Regions from separate parts of the Homo sapiens genome. Here region 1 is linked to region 2. Evidence: promoter capture Hi-C in 16 types of primary human blood cells and fetal thymus (Javierre and others, 2016). All regions are on one chromosome and are shown on one strand. The core of a region is centred on a gene start or on the middle of the fragment in contact, and the rest is flanking DNA. Distances in the headings are between cores, read along the strand shown. Region 1 has its middle 5.5 kb from the start of SLC35B4. Region 2 holds the start of EXOC4 (exocyst complex component 4).

Region 1 (2,700 bases), core at 15-2,514, 1.1 Mb before region 2:
CTTCAGGTAATTATTCGTACTTACTTTCTCTCATAGCAGGTACCATTTTCAAACGCTCACCTGTTTTGTTTATGAGTCCCTTAAAGAGTAGCTGGTTTTTTGAAAGGTCCTCTTCCTTCCTTCCCTGCTTTTTCTTTCTTTCTTTCTCTTTCTTCTTTCTTTCTCTCTCTCCTTCTTTCTTTCTTTTTCTATTTCTTTCTTTCTCTCCTTCCTTCACTCCTTCCCTCCAGCTGTTACTTACTGAGCACCTACTATAAGCCAGATGTCATCCAGATATGGAGGATACTGTGGCTAATAAGACAAAGCCCTTGTCCTTGGGCCACTAATATTCTGATCAAGAAGGTTTTCTTCCTAGCCAAAATGTCATACTCCCAAATTATAGTAATCTGAAAAAATATGTCTTCAAATAATGCCCTTGAAAATATTAGCATTCATAAGTCTATTAATATACCAGGGCATTGCTTGAATCTGACCTATGAAACAAACAACAAGAATATTTTGACTCTATGAATAATATCTGAAGTATATTTATAGTGCACAGCTCTAAATATCTCAAGATTTACATAATGCAAAGATGAGAAAATAATCATCATATGATAGATATAGAAAAGATGTTTTAAAAAATCAAATGACAGATCTCTGTAGGATTGGCAATTTGAGACTTATCAGGCAGTATTCCATCAGAGGTATATTATTTAATTTTTTGTCAACAAGTTGTTTAAGTGAATTTTACAAATGATTCAAAATGTGTCTGAGTGTCTAGAACTAGAAACAAAAATGGCTTTTAGAACAAGCTTGACAGCTTTTCCCACTGACAACACTAGGTCAAAGACAATGAACATTCCCAAAGTGATAGATCCTTCTTTATAAGGTAAGAGGACTGTGAAGAGGTTTAAACATGTTGAGCACAGCTGGTGTCTAAGAAGTTGCTATTCATTCAAAAATGTTAGAATTCTGAACTCAGGGTAATAAAAGAAGAAAAAAAGATCTGTGAGATGAAATCATAGCTATACTTCATAACTTTGGTTTTATGATAAAACAAAATGTTGAAGTCGGCATGACCCCCAAAAAAACTCTTGGATGTTCTAGTTGTCAATTTATGGCCTCTCCACTCCAAATCCACCCTTCATGGCCTTGTTTGGGATGCTGGAGCTTGACCCTGTGGACGTTTCTCCTCTGATGGGGAGCACAGTGTGGAGCTTTGTCACAGAGGGGGCTGCAGGGACACTGAGGGAGGAGTTCTGGTTCTGGTGTGCTTTCTTCCATGTTGCTCATGCAGTGCTCAGCCAGCATGTAGGATACCCTGGGGAATTCACCCTGGTGGACTAACTAGTATCCTCACAGCTGGTATCCAGAAAATTCTGCCAGAGCTCCACCCAGCTTCCTAGCAAGTACAAAACTTCCACCAGCAGCTTCTCAATGAGCTGACCAGTGCCCTACCTGGACCCCAGAGGATGACCCTAGGTGAGTTTCATCAGCACCTCACTGAACTTCTCTGCTAGCCAGAGGACTGCAGCACTACCCCCTTCAATGAGGTCTGAATCTCCATTTGGGGAGGAGGGGAGAGGGCCCTTTTCCAAATATGTTCTTTTCTTGGGTAGTCTGACTCAGTCTTATGTAGTGGCTACTCCTTGTATCTGCTATTCCCATAATTTGGGGAGTTCTTTTAATCCTTTATAGTAGTTTATCTTCTAGTTAATACTACTAGTTAATAATTCTTTATATTAAGCTTTCTTTGTTCAAATTACTATACAATTTTTGCCTCCTGACTGGACCTTAATTGATACGCTGATATCCAATAGAAATGTACAAAAGATATGTACAAGATATTTCACAGTAGCACTATTAATAATAGCCAAATTGTCCATCACCAGAGAACAAATAAGTTGTCGTATATTCATACAAGGAAATGTTATGCAGCAGTAAGAATAAATGAGCTACAAATACACAAAGAAATGTAGCTGAACTGACAACATAATGTTGAGAAAAAAAAAAGAAGAAACAAAAGAAATATACTGCATGATTCCATTTATGTAAAGTGCAAAAGCAGACCAAACTTATCTTTGGTGCTAGAAAGTCAGAATAGTGCTTGCCCTTGGAGGGGGTTAGTGATTGGAATGGGGCACAGGAGCTGCTGGAATGCTGGTACTCATTTATTTCCTAACCTGAGTATTGGTTATACACCACTGTTCATGCAAATTCACTGAGCAGTACATTTTTGATGTTTACATTGTTAAAATTAGTCAAGCTGAAAAATATCATGTATTCATGAGGTGTGAATTATTTGACTACTTCAAGCTGATTCATTCAGTCATTGAATAGAAGGTATATGCACATATTATGTACCAGTCACCATGTAAGATGCTGAGGATCTAGAGATAAATTAGTTATTTGTGGATTCTGTTCATCAAAGGCTTAGTCTAGAGGGGGAGACCAACATGAAAACAGATAACTACAGTGCAACATGATTAATGGATTAGTGGGGGTATGGAGGAGTGCTGGAGGTATAGAGAAGGGAGCCATGAATGGTTCATTGAAAAGCAGCCAGGAGCAGTAGCTCATCCCTGTAATCCCTGCAATCCCTGCATTTTGGGAGGCTGAGGCAGGTGGATCACCTGAGGTCAGGAGTTCGAAACCAGCCTGGCCAACATGGTGAAACCCCGTATCTACTAAAAATACAGAATATATATATATTCTGTA
Region 2 (2,700 bases), core at 181-2,680:
AATGTCCTGGTATTCTAATTCCACAGGAAATTCAGATGGGAAACAACAAACATTCTTATTGGAATTTTAGTATCATGAGATACATCTACACTACCTGCGTATTGTCACAGCGAGAATGTGGGCCTATAGATTCACAATACAACAGCACTTCCTCTGTATGGCCTACCAAGTATATTAAGCATTTCCACACAGAGATGTTTTTCTCTTAAGCCCAAAAGAAAATTAAAGTAATGATTTAATAGGCCATAATCTTAAAGCCTCCTAAATAAGACCCATAAGATGTGTCTTTGTCAGTGAGTGGTAAGCTGTTCTAATGGTTTGATACATGCATTCATTGAAGTGCTTAGTACCTACCAGATAATGTTGGGCCCTGGGTTTTGAAAAGATGATCAATACATTCCAGAAAACTTGCAAGAACTCAAACAAAAGTTTAGTATAGGTGGGGAAAAATAGAGTGTTTGTTTATGAAAAATAAACGAGTTGAAATTCAAATGCCAACAACGTAAAAAACGTGCCATAATAAATTTTATTTAGATTGGTTTTAGTCAGTACCTGCATCATATCCAAGATTCTTGAAAGGGTTCCCCCATCCTCAATATATTTCGCTTTTTTAAAAAAAAGCTCCTAAAAGATCCACCGCTCCCACTCCACCCCCACCCTAATCTTCTGGGAGGTGCAGAGGGGCAGTGCATGGAGGATAATTTGAAATTGGTTTGGTTCTGTTTTTTAAGGAATGGACCAGAATGCGGAGGCAGGGCAAAAAATTGAAAACCGATGTGTGCCTTCAAACCCAGTCCTCCTACCAGCTCACTGCAGATTCTTGTATTTGTGGCTGTGGCCACGCACAGGTGGTTGAAAGTATCCAGAGTGTGAAAACACAAATCTGCAACTCGTGACAGGAATCTCCGGACTCCAAGGCCTTACACCCCAAAGTCCAGGAAACAAGACGCCTTTCTCAGTGAGTGCTGCTACAGGCAAACAATAAACAAGCATTTTAGGAATCAATAAACACACCTTTACACCTGGTTTTCTCTACCAAACCCAAATAGCGTGCTTTGGGGTCCCGAGACTGTAATAGAAGGTGCTGCCCCTAAAGAAAAGACTGAGGCGGGGCTCCTCTCTCTATAGCTAACCCCAGAAAAAAAAGGTGGAGGGGGAATTGCTGGGGCCCTGGGGAGGGGTTAGAGCCCTGGGGAGGGGCTGCGGGAGGCAAGGAGGAAAGGGGAGAGCAGGGTGGGACCCAGCTAACCCTTCTCCCTTCCAAAGCGGAGGTCGAGCCGCTGCCCCCAGTCCCCAGACCCTGCCTCCTGCCTCCCTCACCTGATCACAGAGATGAGCAGCCCCGAGGGGTCTTTGCTTTTGCTGACTGTGCTTCTGTATTTCCCACCAGCTGCTTCTGCCGCCATCTTGGACGCGGGGAGAGCCGCTAGGCTCCAAGGAAGCCAAGGGTGCGTAAATTCTGTATTTGACCCCGCAGGAGTCTCCACCAATGGGTGAAGAGAATTCCAGAGGCGCGGAAGTGGAAAATCCAATCACTGAAGTGAGGAGGCGGGACTAAGGGAGCAAGTTTTGAGGCCACGACGCGCGTGTTCTCTCTAAGCACTCTGGGAGTCGTAGTTTTCCTTCTCCGTCTCCTGGGCGCGCAGGAAAGCTAAACCAGCTGCAACTTCCTAAGTCTTGTAATGAGTGTCTTCATTTATCTTTATTCTGACTTCCAGCTTTTTTCAGTTTCCTTGCTTTTAGAATTTTGTCAGGCTTTAAATCAAATTTATCTGATGATGCCAAAATGTGTTAGGGTTTGTATTTAAATGAAAGAGGGGTTCTCTGCCGGATGTCTATGTGCGAAGTTTTTGCCTTAAGTGCAAGTGATTTTTTAAAAAATCCAATAAAATACGAAAATGAATATAAGCAGAAATGCTTTTCTTTAGTATTCTGTAAAACTAATGTTTCTACATTAGGTTTATGTGGAGTTCAATTTTTCCCAATGTTCCTATATTTCCAGATAGTTCTAAAACCACACGTACAGGAATAAATGAATATTGATGAAGAAAAGACAGTATAAGCTAAAAACAAACAGACCACACTGCAGATTCCTTTTTTTTTTTTTTCAAGCTAAATGAAATACTTAGTAGTAATGCACATTTGTGTTAATACTTTTACCGGTAAGTTTTTAGTATTTCCTGCATTTGGTTCCGTTGGCTTAGTCATTAATTCATAAGACCAAATGAACAAAACAAAACAAAAAAGACCAGAATGTGCGTGGAAAGTGGTTAGACTGAGGAACAAGAATAATAATAATTTAAAAGTAAGGAAGGAGGTGGCCTGCTCAGTAGCAATAAAGATTGAAGAACTTAAAGGAATAGAAAGCAAACTAACTCAGAGGTCATGGAGTTGTGAGCAGCAAGCTCAGAACACATCAATTACTTTTATTAAATAGACATCGAGCTGGTAGAAGTTCACATTTTTAAAAATTAGTTGAAGATAACACACACACACACACACACACGATAACTTAAAAGTATTCATAACCTTTGGCCCAATAATTCCAGTTCTAGGGACTTTGTTCCTAAAGAAATATAGAGTATTGACATTTTTTAAATAACACAGAAGAATTAAATAAATTATGTAACATTCAAATGAGGAAATAACATATAGCTTCTGGAAATCATAATTTTAATGGCTTTTAAAGAAAATAAGATT

Evidence for each region. The method cuts DNA at HindIII sites, captures the fragments that hold promoters and counts their contacts. A CHiCAGO score of 5 or more calls a contact.
Region 1: a fragment that was not itself captured here is called in contact with the fragment with the promoter of EXOC4 in region 2 in 1 of 17 cell types (naive B cells); the score reaches 7.4 in naive B cells.

Annotation. Positions count from the first base shown.
Region 1 is chr7:134,321,124-134,323,823 of GRCh38, reverse strand. No RefSeq gene overlaps it. Among named protein-coding and RNA genes, the nearest start is that of SLC35B4, 5.5 kb to the right of the region's middle. The HindIII fragment of the contact is 935 bases long and covers 797-1,731 here.
Region 2 is chr7:133,251,808-133,254,507 of GRCh38, reverse strand. EXOC4 (exocyst complex component 4) reads right to left here and starts at 1,430. Exons shown (of 18, transcript NM_021807.4): 1 at 1,321-1,430. The coding sequence starts at 1,406. RefSeq lists enhancers at 1,344-1,403, 1,614-1,663. The HindIII fragment of the contact is 3,927 bases long and covers 1-2,700 here.